Linked DNA regions of Homo sapiens: all the other regions are linked to region 3. The links are contacts of gene promoters, found by promoter capture Hi-C in blood cells and fetal thymus (Javierre and others, 2016). All regions are on one chromosome and are shown on one strand. Each heading gives the region's core, a stretch centred on a gene start or on the middle of the fragment in contact. The rest is flanking DNA. Distances are from core to core; before and after follow the strand shown. Region 1 has its middle 25 kb from the start of COLQ. Region 2 overlaps ANKRD28 (ankyrin repeat domain 28). Region 3 holds the start of CAPN7 (calpain 7). Region 4 overlaps ANKRD28 (ankyrin repeat domain 28). Region 5 overlaps BTD (biotinidase). Region 6 overlaps HACL1 (2-hydroxyacyl-CoA lyase 1).

What was found. The method cuts DNA at HindIII sites, captures the fragments that hold promoters and counts their contacts. A CHiCAGO score of 5 or more calls a contact.
Region 1: a contact is called between a fragment that was not itself captured here and the fragment with the promoter of CAPN7 in region 3, in 1 of 17 cell types (endothelial precursors). The highest score is 6.3, in endothelial precursors.
Region 2: a contact is called between a fragment that was not itself captured here and the fragment with the promoter of CAPN7 in region 3, in 1 of 17 cell types (M0 macrophages). The highest score is 8.1, in M0 macrophages.
Region 4: a fragment that was not itself captured here is called in contact with the fragment with the promoter of CAPN7 in region 3 in 1 of 17 cell types (M0 macrophages); the score reaches 5.6 in M0 macrophages.
Region 5: a contact is called between a fragment that was not itself captured here and the fragment with the promoter of CAPN7 in region 3, in 4 of 17 cell types (M0 macrophages, megakaryocytes, M1 macrophages and 1 more). The highest score is 5.9, in M0 macrophages.
Region 6: a contact is called between a fragment that was not itself captured here and the fragment with the promoter of CAPN7 in region 3, in 9 of 17 cell types (megakaryocytes, total B cells, M2 macrophages and 6 more). The highest score is 7.3, in megakaryocytes.

The regions. Positions count from the first base shown.
Region 1 is chr3:15,544,456-15,548,130 of GRCh38, forward strand. No RefSeq gene overlaps it. Among named protein-coding and RNA genes, the nearest start is that of COLQ, 25 kb to the left of the region's middle. The HindIII fragment of the contact is 1,797 bases long and covers 905-2,701 here.
Region 2 is chr3:15,700,616-15,704,375 of GRCh38, forward strand. The region is part of intron 14 of ANKRD28 (ankyrin repeat domain 28); the gene reads right to left. It also overlaps a transcript of BTD not described here. Among named protein-coding and RNA genes, the nearest start is that of MIR3134, 5.1 kb to the left of the region's middle. The HindIII fragment of the contact is 842 bases long and covers 1,628-2,469 here.
Region 3 is chr3:15,204,996-15,208,848 of GRCh38, forward strand. It overlaps CAPN7 (calpain 7), which reads left to right and starts at 1,251. Exons shown (of 21, transcript NM_014296.3): 1 at 1,251-1,602. The coding sequence starts at 1,501. It also overlaps the pseudogene COL6A4P1. RefSeq lists a silencer at 957-1,476. The HindIII fragment of the contact is 5,244 bases long and covers 1-3,853 here.
Region 4 is chr3:15,683,055-15,686,596 of GRCh38, forward strand. It overlaps ANKRD28 (ankyrin repeat domain 28), which reads right to left. Exons shown (of 28, transcript NM_001349278.2): 19 at 3,168-3,255; 20 at 2,948-3,065; 21 at 2,172-2,391. It also overlaps a transcript of BTD not described here. Among named protein-coding and RNA genes, the nearest start is that of MIR3134, 13 kb to the right of the region's middle. The HindIII fragment of the contact is 1,853 bases long and covers 1,060-2,912 here.
Region 5 is chr3:15,629,710-15,633,549 of GRCh38, forward strand. All of the region lies in intron 1 of BTD (biotinidase), which reads left to right. Among named protein-coding and RNA genes, the nearest start is that of BTD, 30 kb to the left of the region's middle. The HindIII fragment of the contact is 3,591 bases long and covers 34-3,624 here.
Region 6 is chr3:15,576,999-15,581,027 of GRCh38, forward strand. It overlaps HACL1 (2-hydroxyacyl-CoA lyase 1), which reads right to left. Exons shown (of 17, transcript NM_012260.4): 9 at 2,912-3,047. Among named protein-coding and RNA genes, the nearest start is that of HACL1, 23 kb to the right of the region's middle. The HindIII fragment of the contact is 7,521 bases long and covers 1-4,029 here.

The sequences.
Region 1 (3,675 bases), core at 553-3,052, 340 kb after region 3:
TCTTTATCCATCCATCTGCTGATGGACACTTAGGTTGTTTCCAGAACTTGGCTACTGTGAACAGTGCTACAATAAACATGGGAGTGCAGATACTGCTTCAATATACTGATTTTTCTTTTGGGTATAAGCCTAGGAGTGGGTTGCTGGATCATATTGTAGCTCTATTTTTAGTGGGTTTTTTTTTTTTTTTTTTTTTTTTTTTTTGAGACATGGTCTTGCTCTGTCACCTAGGCTGGAGAGCAGTGGCACACTCTCGGCTCACCATAGCCTCTACCTCTTGGGCTCAAGCAATCCCCCATCCTTAGTCTCCCGAGTAGTTGGGACTATAGGCATATACAATCATGCCTGGCTAATTTTTTATTTTTGTATTTTTGTAGAGATGGGGCTTTGCCATATTTCCCAGGCTGGTCTAAACACCTGAGCTGAAGCGATCCACCCTCCTCAGCCTCCCAAAGTGCTGACATTACAGGTGTGAGCCACTGTGCCCGGCCCTCTATTTTCAGTTTTTTGAGGAACCTCCAAACTGCTCTCCATAGTGGTTGTACTAATTTATATTCCACCAACAGTGTACAAGAGTTCCCTTTTCTCCACATCCTCTCCAGCATTTGTTATTGCCTGTCTTTTGAATAAAAGCCATTTTAACTGGGGTGAGAAAGCATCTCATTGCAGTTTTCATATGCATTTCTCTGATGACCATATTTAGCACCTTTTCATATACCTGTTTCCCATTTGTATGACTTACTTTGAGAAATGTCTGTTCAGATCTCTTGCCCATTTTTTAATTGTATTAGATTTTTTCCATACAGAGCTGTTTGAGCTCCTTATATATTCTGATGAGTAGTTTGCAAATATTTTCTCCCAGTCTGTGGGTTGTCTCTTCACTTTGTTTCCTTTGCTGTGCAGAAGCTTTTTAACTTGATGTGACTCCATTTGTCTATTTTTGCTTTGGTTGCCTGTGCTTGTGGGGTATTACTTATGGTTCAATCTTGGTAGGTTGTATGTGTCTAGGAACTTATCCATTTCTTCTGGGTTTTCCAATTTCTTGTCATATAGTTGCTCCAATGATCCTTTGAATTTCTGTGATATCAGTTGTAATGTCTCCTTTTTCATCTCTGATTTATTTGGGTCTTCTCTTTTCCTTAATCTGGCGAAAGGATTTTATTTTTTAAAAAATTGTTCTGTTGAACTTTTGCATTGTTTTCTTTATTTCAATTACATTTATTTCTGCTCTGCTCTTTATTATTTCTTCTACTAATCTTAAGTTTGGTTTGCTCTTGCTTTGCTAAATCTTTAAGATATATTGTTAGGTTGTTTATTTGAAGTTTCTCTATTTTTTCTTTTTTTTTTTTTTTTGAGATGGAGTCTTGCTCTGTCACCCAGGCTAGAGTACAGTGGTGCAATACTGGCTCGCTGCATCCTCTGCCTCCTGGGTTCAAGCAATTCTCCTGCCTCAGCCTCCTGAGTAGCTGGGATTACAGGCATGTGCCACCACACCCAGCTTTTTTCTTTTGTACTTTTAGTAGAGACAGGGTTTCACCATGTTGGCCAGGCTGGTCTTGAACTCCTGACCTCAGGTGATCCACCCACCTCAGCCTCCCAGAATGCTGGGATTACAGGCGTGAGCCACTGCACCCAGCCAGTTTTTCTACTTTTTTGATGTAGGTACTTATAGCTATAAACTTCCCTCTTAGCACTGCTTTGCTGTATTCCATAGGTTTTGGTATGCTGTGTTTCCATTATCATGTGTTTCAATAATTTTTTCAGTTTCCTTCTTAATTTCCTCACTGACCCATTGGTTACTCAGACACATACTGTTTAATTTCCATGTGTTTGTATAGTTTCCAAAATTCCTCATTATCGATTTCCAGTTTTATTCCATTGAGATCAGGGAGGAGACTTGATATTATTTCAGTTTTTTAAAATGTTTTAAGACTTGTTTTGTGGCCTAACATATGGTCTATGCTTGAGAATAATCTATGTGCTGAGGAGAAGAATGTATATTCTGCAGCCATTGCATGAATTGTTCTATAAATATCTATTAGGTCCATCTGGTCTGCAGTGCAGATTAAGTCCAATGTTACTTTGTTTTCTGTCTGGATGATTTGTCCAATGCTGAAAGTGGGGTGTTGAAGTCTCCCACTATTATTATATTGGGGTCTATCTCTCTCTTTAACTCTATTAATGTTTGCTTTATATATCTGGGTGCTCCAGTATTGGATGCATATATAATTGTTATATCCTCTTCCTGAATTGACTCCTCTATAATTATATAATAATCTGGCCTCTTTTTACAGTTTTTGTCTTGAAGTCTATTTTGTCTGATACAGGTATAGCTACTCCTGCTCTTTTTTGATTTCCATTTGCATGGAGTATCTCTTTCCATCCCTTTCTTTTGTCTATGAGTGTCTTTATACGTGAAGTGTGTTTCTTGTAGGCAACAGATCATTGGGTCTTTTTTTTTCTTTATCCATTCAACCACTCTATGCTTTTTGATTGGAGCATTTAGTCCATTTACATTCAATGTTATTATTGATAAGTAATGACTTGTTTTCTGGTTGTTTTGTGGTCTTCTCTTCCTTCTTTCCTTCTGTCCTGTCTTCCTTTCTAGCCGAGGTGATTTTCTCTAGTGGTATGTTTTAATTTCTTCCTTTTTATTGTTTGTGTTATCAATCATATGTTTTTTGATTTGAGGTTACCATGAAGCTTGCAAATAATATCTTATAACCCATTTCTTTAAACTGATGACAACTTAACACTTGTATAAACAAGCAAAGAGAAAACTAATTAAAATGCTACACTTTTTACATCAGTATAGTGTGAGAAATAAAAATAAAAAATCTGTACACTTTAACTTCTTCCCTCTACTTTTTATTTTGTTTTTGTTTTAATTTATACCTTACTGAACTCTGTCTTGAACAGTTGTTGCAGTTATTGTTTTGTTTTGAGATAGGCTCTCACTTAACGCCCAGGCTGGCTGTAGCCTCGACCTCCAGGGTGGTGACTCCCACCTCAGCCTCCTGAGTAGCTGAAAGTGCAGGAACATGCCACTACACTCAACTAATTTTTTGTATTTTTTTGTAGTGACAGGGTTTCACTATGTTGCCCAGGCTGGTCTTGAACTCTTGAGCTCAAGCAACCTGCCTACCTTGGCCTCCCAAAGTGCTGGGATTACAGGCAAGAGCCACTGTGCCTGGCCATTTTTGACTTGTCCATCATTTAGTCTTTCTACTTAAGATATGAGTTTGCACACCACAATTACAGTGTTATAATATTTTGTGTTTTTCTGTGTGTTTACTATTAACAGTGAATTCTGCAGCTTCAGATAATTTCTTATTGCTCATTAAGGTCTTTTTCTTTCAGATTGAAGAATTCCCTTTAGCATTTCTTGTAGGACAGGTCTGGTGTTGATGAAACCCTTCAGCTTTTGTCTGGGAAAGTATTTCTTCTTCACAGTTGAAGGAAATTTTTGCTGGTTATATTATTCTACAGTAAAAGTTTTTTCCTTCAGCACTTGAAATGTGTCATGTCACTCTTTTTCCTGGCCTGTAAGGTTTCCACTGCAAAGTCTGCTGCGAGACGTACTGAAGCGTCATTGTATACTGTTTCTTTTCTCTTGCTTGTAGGCTGACTTCCTTATCCTTGACCTTTGGGAGTTTCATTATTAAATGCCTTGAG
Region 2 (3,760 bases), core at 799-3,298, 500 kb after region 3:
GTACAAAAATTAGCTGGGTGTGGTGGCGGGCGCCTGTAGTCCCAGCTACTCGGGAGGCTGAGGCAGGAGAATTGCTTGAACTCAGGAGGCGGAGGTTGCAGTGAGCAGAGATCGCGCCACTGCACTCCAGCCTGGCGACAGAGTGAGACTGCAAAAGAAACACAACAGTATATAGGCCATAATTTACAATTTTAATACATTTTATTACAGCAGAAAAAAAAAGCACTGAAATAGCACTGGTACCAGTGATCTTGGGCCATAAAAGTGAAATAGCCTCTGTTTATTCATTTGATACATGGAGAAGCCAGCTAAATAATCTAAAGTGTATTCATGTTCAAATTCCAAGTCTATAATTATTCAGTGATAATTTGTTTGGTATTCAAATACGTCTACCCAAATATTAAACTACCTGGGGAAAAAATTCTTTAATCAAATACTCCTTATTAAAAGTTTCCAAAATCACACTGAAGTCATATAAAAACAAATGAAAAGAAATTCTAAAGCAATGTAACTGATCTTTCAGTAACTCTAGCTCACAAATATATGAGAGCCATTATTTCAATGCTAACACTTATTTCTTTAAATGCTGAATTTCTTAAAATGCTTTAGACCTCTTAGAAATTACTTTCAGAATCTTCATTGTAATATCTTCAATGGCAGCAAATATTCATCCATTTAAGTGCAATTTTGATATTTATGTACAGCTAAAATTCTTTGGAGTCAAGCATAATAAAAAAAAGAAGATTAAGCTGGGTGCAGTGGCTCATGCCTGTAATCCCAGCACTTTGGGAAGCGGAGGTGGGCGGAACACCTGAGGTCGGGAGTTCAAGACCTGCCTGACCAACATGGAGAAACCCCATCTCTACTAAAAATACAAAATTAGCCAGGCATGGTGGCACACACCTGTAATCCCAGCTCCTCGGGAGGCTGAGGCAGGAGAATCACTTGAACCCAGGAGGCGGAGGTTGCAGTAAGCTGAGATTGCACCATTGCACTCCAGCCTGGGCAAGAAGATCAAAACTCCGTCTCAAAAAATAAATAAATAAATAAATAAAATAAAAAGGTTAAAGTGGGTATCACTATGATAAAGAAATAAAATAAAACCCACGTCTGGCTCTAAGGTAATAAGACTGGTGTTTTGTTTTGTTTCACAAACTAATTCTGAGGACATGTCAGGAAAAGGAAGTGTTTCAGTCAGTGTGTAAACTCTGTACACAGCCTTCCTTGGTGCCGAATTCAGAGGACAGTGCTCACTGGGATGCAGAAAAAGCCTGCAAGTCTGTAGGAATACTTTACAGGCAAAAACATTTTACCCAAGGGCATTTAAAAAAAATCTTTAATCAAGTTCTCTAGATGTTAGTGATAAAACAGAAATGGGTCTTCCTTACTGAGACCTGAATACAAAACTTATTCTAATACAATTTCTTTTATTGGCATACCTTTCAGATTTTGCTAAACAATATAAATTTTCATAATTACTCTGGGTAAGCATTATCTCTAACAAATGAAAAAGATTACTGACACTAAGTTAAATGACTTTTCCCAAATCCTTTTGGCTAGAATATGGCAAACCAAGGACTAAACCACCTCAGGTCTTCCCTTTATCCATTGTTCTATGTTCCCACAAAGCTTTAGAACAGTGGTTAATCACTTACAGTGGTAAGTTAACTAGGGTGCTTATAAAATACTGAATCACAAAATTGCTTGATCTTGAAAATGTGAACTTCATTAGAGGGTGGGGGCAGAAGAGTCTGTATACTCTTTTTTCTGTTTGCACATTAACACATGTTCATTTTATGAAACGCAGACAATTAAGAAATGAAGATTCTCCATAATCTGTCCTCTGAAATAAAATATATACACAAAATCTGAAAAAATATTTAAGGCTAAACAATATTCTGTTACAATTTTTTCCTCAATGTTAGGCAAATTAAATATCTTCATCCCCACTAACCACATAGGTTAAAATCGGAATGCATTTCAAACTATTTAAATTTCTCCTACTCTTACCCTACCACTCATGAACCCTACTATTTTGAGTTCTGAGGCAAGTTCAGACTGATTCAAATTCATGTGTCCCATGGCTAGTCAGAGCCCTGGGTAAGGACCACTCAGCCAGGAAAACAGATGTGGTATTGTCACTCCAAGAGGCCCTCCCTCCTCTCTACTCTTCCCATCATGGCATACAACAGTTCTTACCACCCCCCACCACCCCACCCCTGGCCCAAAAAATCAGTTTTAAAAAATACAACTAACCTTTATAGGAAGATTAGGATACGTCAGAACTGTTCCAAACAATTCATATATACTAAACCATTTTAAACTCTACATAGTCGTGACAGAGTTTAGACTAGTATCTCCATTTCACAGATTAAATAGGCACAGAGAGGTTAAGTAATTTGCTGAAGGTCCCCATAGTAAAAGGCAGAGCTAGTATCAAACACTGCTCTTACATATATATACACAATAAGCTTAACAAGGTTGTTGAATGTAAGTCACATACAAAAGGCAAATATATCTTCTATATACCAACACAAAAAAATTTAAAGATTGATTTTGGTAATAAAAAATATCAGATACATAGGAATAAATCTCAGCATTACAAAACCTCTACACACAAAAAACTGCATGATCCCATTTTTATGAAGTTTGAAAACAGACAAAAATAAACTGCCATTAGAAGTCAAAATGTAGCCTCATTTCCTAAGAGTGTTGCTATGGTCTAAATGTTTATGTCCCCCCACACCCATTCACATGGTGAAATTCCAACCTCAAGGTGATGTTATTAGGAGGTGGGGCCTTTAGGAGGTGATTAGGTCAAGAGGGCAGAGCCCTCCCTCATGAATGGGATTAGTGTCCTTATAAATAAGGCCCAAAAGAGCTCTCATTCCTTCTACCATGTGAGGATATGGCAAGAATATGCCCTCAAAGAGGAAGTGGGCCTTCTCCAGACACTGAATGTGCTGGTGCCTTGATATTCTTGACTTCTCAGCTTCCAGAACTGTGAGAAATAAGATTTCTGTTGTTTATAAGCCACCCAGTTTTTGGTATTTTGTTATACCAGTCCAAACAGACTAAGAGAATTGTTATTGCGAAGTTACGATGTTGCTGAAACAAATATCTAAAATGTGGAAGAGGTTTTGGAACTGGGTAATGGATAGAGGACGGAAGAGTTATGAAGTGCGGGCTAGAGATAACAACCCATAAAATATTTTAAAAAATTATATATGATATAGAAAAGGCTTTATAACATATACCAGGACTTCAACTTTGATTAAGGCTGTGAGGGACATAAAATAATCTACATACACACAGAGCAATATAACTGTTGATGATGGTTATCTCAGGAGAGCTGGTATGAGGGGAATTTCTTCCTTATAATCAGGAAAAACAGCCCTCAACCTTTCCTTCTCTTATATACATACTACACACAGGTGTGGAGAAGACCCACATGACATCCTGCTCAAAGACAGCCCTATACGTATCTGCAACAGGCAAATATAATTTTATTTATTAATATTTCACATATTTAATATGTTCATTGCGATAGCAGCCATATATTTGTTTGCTGGATTCTTACATGATGTAAAATAAAGACACTTCAGAGGACTTGCTGAATGACTGTCTACCAAGAACGCAGGCATCAGGACAATGGGGGTAACAAGCAGAATGACTAGAATGAGTCACGGAAGATTTCATGTATTTTTCCAATTATTTACTCAAAGTGAGGATGAAGGGATAAAAGGCAGAGCAGAATTAT
Region 3 (3,853 bases), core at 1-2,500:
CACATTAGATATATTTAAGTAGTGGAGTTGACTCATTCAACATTTTAAAATATTTGTTGAACACCTGCTCTGGAACAAGGCTTGCGCTCAACGCTGGGATCAAAGTGGTAAAGACAGGAAGCATCCCTGCTTCAGCTATAAAACTGTAGTTGCTACCTTTGAGAGCCATCTTTGGGCCAGGCACAAAATCAAATTCTGTGTGTCTTTATAACAGCCTGATGAGACCGTTGTTATTAAGAACTTCACTAAATGTGAAGAAATACACTTAAACTAAGAAATTAGAGTCCCATTTTAAATGCAGGCCAAATGACTGAAAAAAAATTTAGAGTATAATTAAAAAATTAAAAGTACACACTTAAAATGTAGTTTGATAAGTTTTGACAAACGTATATATTTTTACACCACCATTGAGATATAAAACATTCTCATCATCCGAAAAGATTCCTTTGTATCCCCTTCCCAACCACTGATCTGCTTTCTAACATCGTAGTGTTTTCTAGTGTTTCTTATAGATGGAATTATACATTATGTACTCAATTCTTACTTCTTTGACTCAGCATGAATTTGGTGGTGCCCATCACTAATTCATTTTTATTACTGCTGACTTCAGACCTTTAGGGGAGAGAAGACATAAATCAAATAATCACCTAATTAAGTATTTAATTACAACAGCATCAAGTTAACCTAAGGGTAAGTACAAGTGGAAATACATTACCTTGTTTGTTAACAATTCAATCAATACGACCTTGGTGTACAGTGGGGGGCTATAGGGTCATGATTCAGCTTGTGGAAAACAAATGAAAATAAATGTTAGCGAAGAGTGACTCTAAAGAACCTCTGTCCTCACGGTAATTTTTTTAATGTGTCAGATGCTGGTGGGAGGCATTCTTCCTTAGCTCTTTACTCCCATCCCTTACACTTAACAGAGGAAAGGATCTGTAAGGCGCGTACCCCTCTACTGCCCACTGTCGACGAAAACAGCCTCGCCCTGCACCGCCACCGCCACGCATAAGGCGGTGTGTGGGCAGCTCGGACGTGGCACCTGCCCTCAGCTGCTCAATCCCGGGCGCCGCGACGGTCACGTGCACAGCGGCAGGCCTTTTTGCCCCGCCCCCGCGGCCCGGCTCCTGCGTGGGCCCGGCCCCGCCCACAGCCCGCGCAGTCCCGCGAGCCTGGCCTCGGCGGCCCCAGCTTCTAAGGAGCTCGTGAGGGCCAGGCTGCGCCTGCGTCGGGCGGCTGGTGGGCGGGGCGAGGGCCGCTGGGGCCGCGAAGTGGGGCGGCCGGGTGGGCTACAAGCCGGGTCTGGGCTGAGGGGCGCGGCTTCGCGGTGGACCCCAGCCCGGCAACGGGAAGGCGAGCTCTCCTCCACCGTCCAAAGTAAACTTTGCCGCTCCTTCCGCGGCGCTCCCGAGTCCTCGCCGCCGCCGGGCCGCCGCAGTCCGCGAAGAGCCGTCCTGCGTCAGGGCCTCCTTCCCTGCCCCGGCGCGGGGCCACTGCGCCATGGACGCCACAGCACTGGAGCGGGACGCTGTGCAGTTCGCCCGTCTGGCGGTTCAGCGCGACCACGAAGGCCGCTACTCCGAGGCGGTGTTTTATTACAAGGTAGGGCCGGGCCCGGCGCTTCGGTCGGAGTTGCTCAGTCGGAGTGCGGCCCGGGCCTGCGGCCGAGGGGCGGGATCCGGGTGCGGAGGCTAGCGGCCCCGGCTTTGCTTTTCCCTCGTCCGCCTCCCGGCCCTCCTCTTGTTGGGAGCGGCAAGCCCGAGTGCAGAGGCCGACGCTGAGGCTGCGGGGAGGCTGGGTCGCGGCTTGCAGCCGCCGCTCCTCCACCTGTAGTCCTGACTGGCAAATGCCCACCGTTGAGCCGCTTTGGGGGGCAGGTGTTAGATATGGGTAGTTAGTAGCCAATTCTTGCTGTCACTTGACTCTGATTTACAGCTAGCGGGAAATGGCCTGTGATATATATCAAAATAATGCATGCTCGTTAAATAAACTTAAAAAGAATAAAAACCATCTCCTGTCATAGCATTTGACATACAGTCATGCGTCCTTAGCGATGTGATATTTTCTGAGAAATGTGTTCTTAGGCCATTTTGTTGTTGTGCGAACACCGTAGAAAGCGCTTACACAAGCCTGAATGGTACAGCCTGTTCCACACCTAAGCTGTATGGCATGGCCTGTTGCTCCTAGGTTACAGGCCTGCGCAGCGTGTTGCTGTACTCAGTGGTGTGTGCAGTTACATGCAGTGGTAAGTATTTGTGCATCTAAACATAGAAAAGGTACAGTAAACATGCAGCATAAAAGATAAAAAAAAAATACTACACCAGTGTGGGGCACTTACCCACAAAAGGAGCTTGCAGGACTGGAAGTTGCTCTGAGTTGGTGAGTAGTGGTGAGTGAATGTGAAGGCCTGGGACATTCACTGCTCTACTCTTGTAGACTTTATAAGCAGTGTACCCTTAGGCTACGCTAAATTTTTTTAATCTTTCTTCAGTAATAAACTAACCTTAGCTTACGGTAACCCTTTTACTTTATAAACTTCTAAATTTTCTTAACTTTTTAACTCTTTTGTAATAGCTTAAAACGAACTTATTGTGCAGTTACACAAACATTTTCTTTATATCTTTATTTGGTAAGTTTTTTTGTTTCTTTTTTTTTTTTTATTCTTTAGTTAAAAACTAAGGCACACGTTAGCCTAGGCCTACACCTCGTCAGGATCATCAATATTACTGTCTTCCACCTCCAATCTTGTCCCACTGGGAGGTCTTCAGGAGCAATAACAGGAATGAAACTGTCGTCTCCTATGATAACAATGTCTCTTGAAATATCTCCTGAAGGACATGTCAGAGACTGTTTTATAGTTAACTTTTTTTTATAAAAGGAGTATACTAACAGTACATAGTATAGCATAGTAAATACATAAACCAGTAACATAGTTGTTGATTATCAAGTATTATGTACTCTACATTATTGTGTGTGGTAGACTTTTACACCACTGGCACCCCAGTAGGTTTGTTTACATCAGCATCACCACAAACATGCGAGTAAAGTGTTGTGCTATGACATTATGATGGCTATGACATGACCAGGCAATAGGAATTTTTCAACTCCATTATAATCTTAGGGGACCACTATCATATATTCAGTCTGTTGTTGACTGAAATGTTATGTGGTGTGTGACTATATTTTTGTGTTTTTTTATGCGTATGTGTATATGCTTTTTTTTTTTTTTTACAAACTGGTTTATACTGTTTTTAGTAATAGCTGCACAGTAGTTCATTATGTGGGTGTACCATATTTTTTTTTTTAAGAGACAGCGTCTTGCCCTGTCACTCAGCCTGGAGTGCCGTGGCCCACTAATAATAGCTCATTGCAGCCTCAAACTGCAAAGCTCAAGCAATCCTCCTGCCTCAGTCTCCCAATTGGTGGGACTACAGGTAGACACAACCACACTTGGCTAATTTTTTTTTTTTTTTTTTTTTTGTGTAGAAATGGAGTCTCGCTGTGTTGCCCAGGCTGGTTTCGAACTCCTGGGTCAAGCGATCTTCCTGCCTCAGTCTCCCAAAATGCTGGAATTACAGGCGTGAGCCTCTGTGCCTGTCCAGTGTACTATAATTAATTTACAGACTCTTGGGCATTCAGTTGATTTTGTTTTTTCAACATCATAAGTAACGATGTAGTTCATATCTTTATAACTAATTCTTATGACTAGTGCAAATTTTTGCCTGAATTTTCTTTGGGATAAATTACCGGGGACAGAATTGATAAATCAAAGGGTATGAGCTTCCATGGTCCACTCTCTTCTCTCCAATTCTGAGGATTTGCAAATATACCCCTCTAGCTCTAGCTAGATTTG
Region 4 (3,542 bases), core at 736-3,235, 480 kb after region 3:
ATAGATCTGATAACAAACACTGTAATAGAAAGCAACTCTCCAAAGGACAGTTACAGCAGTACATTTACAACTAAATGCTCTTCCTGAGGAAAAATATCTCACTGTGTGATTTTTCCAATGGTTAATCTTCAGGGATATATTTTTTTAAAAACCAAGCAGTAAGTCTTTGCTTCTGAACAGTTTTATCTCACTGACTTTTTTACAGAAACACAACTCACAATTGTAGATATTTTCCCACTATATTAGATATTTTGGGTTTTCCTTATACTTGTAAAATGTCAAGTCACATTACAGAAACAAATCAAACATCAATGGCAAAATACAGTATCTTCTTTGTTCTAGTATGAGTACTAGTCTCTGGCCACTTCACTACACTCATTTCTACTTGCCTTAGCGAGTAGAAATGGGAAAAAGAGAAGTTAAACCCCAAAGGTTTTATAGTTTTCAAAACTGTTTTGGTTAAGGATTTAAGGTAGTAAAAAACAAAGAGACTAAACTAGCTTGTTCAATGAGCAACAGATTTAACTATTCAAGTTTTTATGGTGCTATCAGTACTCAGCTGAAGGATAACCAACAGTATAACAGGACAAACCTCAAGAACCCAAAATGTTCTAACGGCAAAAGAATACAACTCCCAACTTTGGCATAAGGACTAATATGAAAATCAAAATATTGTATCTCAGAAATACTTGTGGAAACATTTAATGAAGTTATAATTTTACAAGATTCAGCTTTTTCCTCTTTTGCTTTAACTTGATAACTTTGTCAGAACAGCTCCCAGTGAAAGAACTATGAAACAGCATATTATAGAAAGATAGGAAATCTCAACTTCCTGGTAAGGCAGTCTGATTTTACAACAGATATTATACTTATTTATTTTTAGCAAATGGGTATTTATATAAAGAGACAACTTATATTTTCTCTGCATTTTGAGGGAAGGTTATTAGAATTGTGAACTACAGCTTTGTAGATCTGCTGTCATAATTAACATTAATCTTGAAGCTACACTGAAATTGAAAACAAATTTTAAAAACCTCTAATTTCTCTACTAAAGCCTGAAGCTTGAACTTTGACAACACTGATGCTTGCACTGTATATAATGTACTTGAGTTTTCTAAGATGATCAAATCTAAAAATATCTCAACATGCTTCATTGCATAAATTATTTTAATTAGTGGCATTTCATAAGCCAAACTGCATTTTTAACATCTATAACTTCAAAGTAGCTTTATGCTTCCCTACGTGACCTTTTATGAGTCTACCTATAAAAGCGATGACTGTGACTGTGAGCCTGTAGGAGGCCAAAGAAAATCTCTTTTAACCATGTAGCAGAGTTAACCCATCAAAGTTTCTAATTCTAAGACCTGCTAGGGATTTATTCCTTTAAAACATTGAACATGGATATTACTGGTAATATAAGAATGTTATCTTGCAATGTGCTCAGAAAACATACATAGATTTCAGTTTAGAATGTGATACATCTCACTGTTTCTCCTACTTTTGGTTATTTTTCCCCTAATATGATTGTATTTAGAAAGTAAAAGAACATGGCTGGGTGCAATGGCTCATGCCTGTAATCCTAGCACTTGGGGAGTCTGATGTGGGAGGATTGCTTAAGCCCAGTTGTTCAAGACCAGCCTGGGCAACATAGTGGGACTCTTAAAAAAAAAAAAATAGTAAAAGAACACAATCAAAATACAAGCACACTATATAAAAGCAATGGAAACATTCTAAAAACCTCCTAAAAATGCAAAATATTTGTGGAAATAAGGATCTAAGAAAAACTTCAGGCTACATGGTGGCTCATGCCTGTAATCCCAACACTTTGGGAGGCTGAGGTGGGAGGATCACTTGATGCCAGGAGTTCAAGACCAGCCTGGGCAACATAGCAAGATCCTACCAAAACTAAAAAAGAAAAGAAAAGAAAAGAAAAACCTCAAAAATACTTCATGGCTTATCTCAGAACACCTTTGACAACTAGTGTCTTGGCTTTAGCATGACAAAGGACAGGAGTGAGCCTACGTACTAAGTATTATTAGTACGTGAGCCTATACAGTAGATTATTCCCAAGGTTTTTGCTAATTTTAAACTTAAAATTTGCCTTATAAATATGTCATTCTTTTATCTCTGTTCACTACACAATGATATGCATTTGTGTTTGTATACTTAACCATTGTAGCAAGCCCAGTGAAGTGCCGTATATCCATGATTGTCTGCTGTGGCTGGATTTGCATCCATAGATGCTGCTGACTGCAAAAGGGCTCCAAGAACACCAATGTGTCCACAGGCAGCAGACAGGTGTATAGGCGTCCGGCCCCTGCTATCCCGAAGTAAGCACTTAGCACCATGTTGAAGTAATGCATCTACACATTCTTCATGGCCTGTAACTGCCTGAAAGAAAATAATTTAAAGGTAGTCAAACATATTATGCTAAACATTACATGCCAATTTCAGCTAATTAAAAACTTTAAAGACCATACTCTCCATATCCTTCCATCAATTAAAGCCATTTATCATTTTATGAGTAATTCTGTATTTTTATTGGAAGTGGTTTAAAAATTCAGTTAAAGCAAGAACCCTTCTAAAATGCAAATAGTATGAAAACAGGAAGAGAGAAACTTGGTATTCAATGAAAATAATGATATTTCAAAGGTGAAAAAAGATTAAAGTGTATAAGAAAATAAGTGAGATAATGGAAAAAGTCAAATTGACATTAATTCTACTAAAAGTTTTAGAGTTTTAAAATTTTGTTCTAACATTGTTCTCTAGATTAAGTTGTACTCTGTAATTGTTCAAAATTAGCATTTAAAAACTAAGATACTGAAAGAAATGGTAAAGACTATTTGACGAACATTTAATGAAGAAAAAATAAACATAACCTAGTTCAGTTCTAGGTAATATGAGGTCATAAAAGCTTTTTGAAAGGAAAGAGCATATTTCTGCTTACCCCTCTATGCAACGCTGTCCTTCCCCACTTATCTTTGGCATCTACATTTGCTCCTTTGTTCAGCAATGAGTAAACACAGTCTGTGTGCCCGTTGAGAACAGATAGCATCAGAGGCGTCCTGAGCAACAACAGGAATAGGTTCAGTGCTGTCACTTAAGACTGTACTCTGGTTTTCGAAATACGCCCTTCTGTGATGCAACAATTATTTATCGAAACTTACTGTCCATTTCCATCTTGAATATCCACTGCATTCTGTGGTTCTGCATTTCCTATTAATAGCCGTAAGCATTCTGAATGACCATTTGTTGCTGTAAAGTGAAATTTAAACATTTCAGTAATTACATATAATGATAAAATAGAAAATGTCCATCTAAAAGCACATCTTCTAGAATTTACTTTTGGGATAGTTGCACTGAATTTAATATGCAAGAATGAAAACTATAGGTAAAAAGAAGGTTTCTACGGCCTTTGACTGTTAAAGCTGGAATAAATGTGAATTCCTCACAGTAAAACATGACAGGCAGACCGCCTACCCAGCACCCATGCCCTATCATCTGCCTCTAAAAGAATGCTCATTTTATTTAGCTCTCTGGCA
Region 5 (3,840 bases), core at 579-3,078, 430 kb after region 3:
CAGACAGGGTTTCACCTCCGCAGTGGTCATTAAAGCTTGACCACTAAATTGCCCTGGTTCTTCAACATGCACTAGGCAGGCTGGACCAGAAGCCAGGAGACCTGGCTCCCAGTCTCATTATCATTACTAACCAGTCCTGGAGTTTTCCCTCACCATGAAGATGGAATTTTTACCATCTGCTTTCTCTGCTTTGTGTGGCAGGAAGATAAAAAAATAATAATAATGGATATTCAAACGGTTTATATTGCATGTAAAATGCAATGTGGCATTGATTGTAGATCCCTTAATTCAGACAGATTTCCCCACGCAGACGCTGTGTGTCACAGGGGGAATGGGCAGCGTCACTTTTTACATCCAGTCATATTGTATGAAATTGCAACAAATTCAAAAAGATGCCATCGTGGGAGTGTGGTGAGTAAAAAACAGCTTTCATGAAACTCAAATCTTGAAAGTCAGATGCTTTCTGGGTCTTGTTTAACTGTAAAAGAGATAGATGAAGTATTAGAAATGGAGAAGGAAAGGGGGGAAAAGCCATCCATTTACTGCTTAAGAATGGCTCTGCTATTGCGATACCTAAGGTCACATGCGTAGCCACTTGGGTTAATGATACTCAGTTTGTCCACGGAGTGGCAGTAGCAACTGTCTGAGAATCAGTCTCAGCCGGGGTTCCTTCTGTCTATAGAAAGTGAAAGACAGACTGTTATTCAAATTCCATGTGCAAAAAAGCCTTCTTACATTAAATACCTGGGCATTTCAGGAAGAAGTTTTATTTGACTTAAACTGTGAAGGCAGTTTCTCATTTGAGGAAAAGAAAGATATAACGTGTTTCAGTTGAAATGTCAAGATCCTTTGATTGCACATTTGGTTTCCTAGGATAAATTATTCTAGCCAATGGAGCAGAAACTGGCTAATCAAAGGCACAGTGCACAGTTACACTTCTGTATATCATTCTCTTTTTTTAAAATAATAGCTGGAATTTTTTTTGAAAGTGAAATTACAATTTACCACCTCAACTCAGAGGACATATTAGCTTGATAACTTATTCACAGTTGCTGGTGAGTTCAGGCTTAAATCATCAGCTGTCACTCACAAGTGTTTACCCTTGAACTTTCCGAATGAGACATCAAACGTCTTGGTAGTGGGTGGGTTTAAACAAAGCTGCCCACGCGAGAACCATTGTGGAGCTTCTTGTTCCAGGGGCCGGTCACGGACAAGCTCATGACCAGCACACTCAGATGTGACAATCAGATAACAAGAGGCAAGAGAAGACTTTCTGGGAAATAAAAGATCATTTTTGTGATTTCTTTAAATTCAGATCATATAAATTAGGTGAAGATAGACATTATTTCTCCTGTTTATGTAAAAGAATTTAGACAATGAAGTCACGAAATTCATGAGAATAATTTAAAGACTGTTGGAACTTCCCAATGTTTTTCTTGGCATTCAGTCACTACACATAGAAATGTATACTATGCCGGTTCCTAATGACTTAGCAGTTCCCTCAGGCTTTGTTCCACAGGATGTGACATCTCCTCTGCCAACTTTTCCTGCCTCCTTTCCTAATCATAGGATTGCTATTCTCCCTGACAAGTAAAGAATGACAAGATATTTTATTAAAAAGATGTTTTATTTATCTTTTAAAGATTTTTTAATGTATGTATCTGCCTCTGAAATTATTAAGAATGCCTTAATAATAATCCCTCTCATTTTATTTCAGAAGACACTATTGTAATAGCATGGCTAGGAAGGAAACACAGCTAATTATTAAGATGAATCATTTAGCAAGGTGGGGAAAAATCCCTTGTGTGTAAAAATATCTAGTGATTGACATATTACCAAATTTACATGAAATAGATTTCCATGTAATTGAGACTGATTTTTCCTATTAGATGGAAAGAACCTTCCTGATCAGGACTGGTGTTGGGGGAATGTTTTCCTTATGAAATCAGAAGCAGAGCTTCTGTAGGGCCGTCCAAGATCAGGATGCTTACTTCAAGATGCCACTCTGCATCTCTCCCCACCTGCCAAGTGTTTCCTGTCTCCCAGATGCTTTCTATTGGCTTATTGTAAGGACTTTGACTTCTGCGCTACGTGAACTGGGGAGTCACTGGAAGAGTTTCAGAGGTGCACCTTGGTAGACTCAGGCTTTCTCTGGATCTCACTGGCTGCTCTTATGAGTCCAGAATGGAAGAGGATGAGGACAAATGCAGGGGGATGTTAGGAGACCACTAAGCAGGTCCCTGTCATTTCTCTCTCTGTGATTCCTTTTGCTGCCACTTTCTCCTTGTCCCCTTGGCTCCAGCCCCCTGCTGTCCTTGCTGTTTCTTGCACCCGCCCGTGAGGCATGCTCCTGCCTCAGGCTCTCTGCCTGCCGTGCTCTCACCTCGCAGACCCACGTGATTTCCTCCCGAACCCCCTTCAGGCCTCGGTCCAAACATCACCCTCTCATCGAGGTCTTCCTTGACCACACTGCTTAAAATTGTCCCCCTCGCCTCACCTTACCACCTTCACTGCCTCATTTCTCCTTTGTGCTTAATCACCATCTCACACAGTTATCCAGAGCACGAGCCCCACGAGGAAGGGTCTGTCTTGTCCACTGTTGGACCCCTGACACCTAACCCCTGGGGCTGGCCCACAGTTGGGAATTGCATGGCTGTCTGAAGCCAGCACCTTCCTGGTTCTGCTGTTCCCTGGAAGTGGGGTTCAGTACACCCCACGAGCCAAGGCCCTCATCTCAGAGGGCGTGCACATGGTTGCCTCAATTGTGCTTTCACACTGGACCCTTCCTGCAGTTTACTCTCCTATGTCAGATGCCCTTCAATGAAAGCAAGTACATTGCCACCTTGTCACACCTCTAGTTACCATTTTCTTTATGGTCCAGGTCCTGACCAGCTCTAAAGATGGGTCAGCTGCTGTATTTCCAAGAACCCCATGACTTCCAGGGCCCCTTGTTCCCAGGAAGGCCCCGCACCCCAGTCGTCCCGTGCATAACCTCACGGGCCAGCACCTGGTAGCTGCTGGAAGGCTTCTGGGGGATGCCTGGGCCCCTCCAGCCCTACCTCTAGTCCTGCCACTTTACAACTGAGCACCTCCCGCTGCTGCCTGCTGAACCCTTCAGAGTCCTTGCCACAGGCCCTATTTACTTTTTCCTGAGAAGGTATGTGTGATGCCAAAGAGAGAAAAGCAGCATTTGCTAATTTGGGTAAAATGTTTCTTTGGGAAGGGCAAATTGATGTACAGTTGTCCCTCAGTATCTGTTGGGACTGGTTCCAGGACCCCGTGGATACCGAAACCCTCAGATGCTCAAGTCCCTTATATCAAATGGTGTAGAATTTACATGTAACCTAAACACTTCCTCCTGTACACTTTAAATCATCTCTAGATCCCTTACACTACCTAATACAAACTAAATGCTATATAAATAATTGTTATACTGTATTTTTTAAATTGCTATTATTTTTTATTGTTGTGCTATTATTTTTATTGGGCTCCCTCCTCCCCCTCCCACCCCAGTAATTTCAATCCAAGGTTGGTGGAATCCATGGATGCAGAAACAATGGATACTGAGGGCCGGCTGACTAGACCTATTTTTATTGTAATTACTCATTCTCTTCTACCTCATTAAGCTTGGTTCTTTCAAGCATGAATACCTGGTTGAATCTGCATAACCTCTTATTATCGACCTACCTTTGTTCACACACAAATGATTGCCACTTAGAGCTCTCCTACCGGGCTCCTTTTGTAAAATAAATTTTATCTTCTCCAGATAGAAAGAAATGTGATACCTTGCGGATTTTGCGGTTTCCTTGTTTTGCTGGATTGCAAGTCCTTTAGACATAA
Region 6 (4,029 bases), core at 319-2,818, 370 kb after region 3:
CACTGGTAATGTCATTAATATTATCCTCTTAAAATCTGGCTAGACTGAAGATAAACTTCATTTCAACCTAAGTATAAAAAAATTAAGTGTAAGAATTAACTTGGTTACTGTATATAGTAATATAAATAAAAATACAACATATTAAGATAGCATTAAGTGAGGAACAATTAAAGATCTAGCAGCAAACATTACATTTAAAAAGCCCTCAGAAGCCAGGTGCTCACACCTGTAATCCCAGCACTTTGGGAGGCCAAGGTGGAAGGATCACTTGAGCCTAGGGGTCTGAGTCCAGCCTGGGCAACACAGTGAGGCCCTGTCTCTACAAAATAAAAATCAAAAACCCTCAGAATTAATTTTAACCCATGAATGAAAATATGAAGAACACCAAACACATGACAGTAATAAACTACAGAAAGGGAAGCAAGAAATGGCATCAAAAAAGATATTTAGGGGACTGCAAATGAATCCATAATTTTTTGCTTCCTAAAAAGAAAAAAAAAAAACACCTTAGGCCAGGCATGGTGGCTCATGCCTGTAATCCTAGCACTTTGCGAGGCCTAGAAGGGTGGATTCCTTGAGCCCAGGAGATCAAGACCAGCATGGGCAACACGGTGAAACCTCGTTTCTACAAAAAATACAAAAATTAGCTGGGTTGTAGTGGCACACACCTGTAGTTCCAGCTATTAATACTTGGGAGGCTGAGGTGGGAGGATTGCTTTAGCCCAGCAGGCAGAGGTTGCAATCAGGTGTGATTGCACCACTGCACTCCAGTCCAGGCAACAGAGCAAGACCCTGTCTCCAAAAAAAACCCAAAAACCGGCTGGGCGCAGTGGCTCACACCTGTAATCCCAGCACTTTGGGAGGCTGAGGCGGGCGGATCACAAAATCAGGAGATGGAGACCATCCTGGCTAACACAGTGAAACCCCATCTCTACTAAAAATACAAAAAATTAGCCGGGTGTGGTGGCAGGCGCCTGTAGTCCCAGCTACTAGGGAGGGTGAGGCAGGAGAATGGTGTGAACCCAGGAGACAGAGCTTGCAGTGAACCAAGATCGCGCCACTGCACTCCAGCCTGGGTGACAGAGCAAGACTCCGTCTCAAAAAAAAAAAAAAAAAAAAACCAAAAACCCTAAAGCAATATAAAACAATGTTAATAACTGATGCAATCCTACTTCTTATACATTACTGCCAAATGAAACCTTTTTTTACTTAGAGATTCATCTGTCTATATTTTTTATGTTGATGCTGATAAAGTTGAGTGGTGGTTATGTAAGTGTTCATTACATTATTCTCTCTTCCTGTGTGTATAGTTAGAATATTTCATAATAAAGACATTTCAAGAAATTAAAAAGAAAAAAGTTATAGTATATTAAAAAGCATGCCTTAAAAATCTAAAAAGAGGAAACTTCCAATGCCAGCCAAGATTGGCTAAGTTTGAAGAAGCAACCCACACAGAGGGTAAGTTTCCAAGGTATTTCTCCCCCGTGTTTTGTCTCCTGGCTTTGACTCAAAGGCAGCCCTAGTTGCAGAACTGCAAGCAGCGAAAACTTGCAGAGAAACTGTTTTTTTGGCCAAAGGATCAGGAAAAGGGCCACTGCAAGCTGGAGAGTATGGGGGGAAATGTCAGATTTTTTTTCTTTTTTTCTTTATCTCCAAGCTCTGCTCTGAGGGCAGCCTTACTGCAGAGCTGCATGGTGGTGGCTCCCAAGCAGCTGAAATTCCAAGAGAAACGTCATCTTTGAGGCAAGAGGGATTGGGAAAAAGGGTCCCTGTGGTCTGAAGAGTATGGGGACAATCCCCATTATTTTTTTCTTCTGCAGCTTGTTCAGAGGGCAGCTTTAGTTATGTGATACTATAAGGGAGCAGCAAGAGCCAGGAAAAGGGGCAACTGAGAATGGGAGAGTGGGGGTGTGGAGCCTACAGAGGAGAGAAAATAAATCCCTAATTCTGGGTATGAACCAGTACATGTCTGGGGCTCACCCCTGAGCTGGACATGTGCAGACAGACTCAAAACAGCACAGCAAAGGCTCTGAAACTGAAGTGACCCTGGAACTACTTATATATGGTTAAGTTCACACTTCGATTTGTAGTCAAGCTAATCTAATCACGTTGACTGATTGCTAAGAGAAACCAACAAAAATCAACATTCTACAGAGGATTTTAATATGACCCAGAATCTCCAAATACAATATCCAAAAATCCAGGATACAATCCAAAATTACTCAGTACAAAAAGAGCCAGAAAAATGTGATCAACTCTCAAAAGAAAAGATAATGAATAGATGCCAATCTGAGATGACTCAGATGTTGGAATTAATAAACAAAGACTGCAGAAACTATTATAATTTACCCCATCATGAAGTATAGAAAAATATTCTTAAAAGAAATGTAAAAATAGAAGATCTCAGCAGAGAAGCAAAATATAAAATAAAAGGATTAAAAAGAAATGAACAGATAGATACTCGGGGACATGTCAGACAGTATCAAAATGGATGAAGGTTGACATAGAAAAAATATTTGAAGAAAGAATGATGAAAACTTTCCAAATTTAGAGAAAGACAATTTAGAGAAAGACATAAATTTAAATATTCAAGATTTGAGAATCCCAAAAGGCTAAATTAAAATAAACCATTTCCAGGCACATCATACTTAAACTGCTGAAAACAAAAGACAAAGGAAAATCTTGGGAACAGCCATGGAAAAACAACATATTACATACAGAGCAACAATAATTTGAATGACTGCAGATTTCTCATATGAAATGAAAGCCAGAAGATAGTCCAAAAATAAACAGGTATGCTTAAAATTCCATGATTCTTTCAGAACTCCATCCTAGATGAAGATCACAAAATAATTTAAATTAGCCTAAAATCTACCAAGCCATTGTATTTAAAATCTGGAATGCCACACACCTGGATCTGGCTGCACCTACACAGTATGGATGGTTGTCAGGGACAACACCCTTCCCCATAGGGGTGGGCAAAAATGGCAGTTTATATTGCTCCACCAATTTCTTGATACTCTCTTCTGCATGAGCGTAAGCAGCACCTATAAGAAATGCAAATGTATTGGACAATTCAGTTAAGCTATAGGCACTGTGACCCTTAAAAAAGTTCATGTGAAATTGCTTTTTACTTATTTATATTTTGAGACAGGGACTCACTCTATCACCCAGGCTGGAGTGCAGTGGCATGATTTTGGCTCACTGTAACCTCTGCCTCCCTGGCTCAAGCAATCTTTCCTCCTCAGCTTCCCGAGTTGCTGGGACTACAGACACACATCACCACCGCACTCAGCTACTTTTAAAATTTTCTGTATAGACGAGGTCTCCCTATATTGCCCAGCTGGTATGCTGGTCTTGAACTCATGGGCTCAAGCAATCCTCCTTCCTTGACCTCCTAAGAAATTACTTGTAGATCTTCTCAAATACTCTCCTTCTGCCTATACCTGGGCTTAAACTCAAAACAAATTGTGATTACAGTTTTTATCGCTGGTATTTTAAAATGCTTAACAAAGTAAGAGTTCTAATTTTCCACCAATAACACTCTCAATTATCCTGAAGGATGTCTATCCCAAAACAAAAGTCACATCTCACAGCTCTTGCTACTGTCACTTACCCATTCTATGCTATGGTCCTACTAAACTACACTCTACAAGTCCCTGAACACACTATCTTCATTGAGAGGCCCAGGTGGCCAGGGAAAAATGTTGCCCTGAAAGAGAAAGGCTCTCTCTACCCTCATATGTTGGTCCTCATCTCCAGTAAACCTCCTCTACACAAGGCCTCCTAGTCCAGGCATGGAAATTCTAAGGTGCATTAAGTTTCTAAAGATCTGCAGATCTTTCTACAGGCTCTGTAATTCTGTGATTGTAACAGAGCTAACCCCAGTGGGACACATTATCTTTTTTGTTGTTGTTGTTGAGGCAAAGTCTCACTCTTGTCACCCAGGCTGGAGCGCAATGGCGCGATCTCGGTTCACTGCAACCTCCACCTCCCGGGTTCAAGCGATTCTCCTGCCTCAGCCTCCCA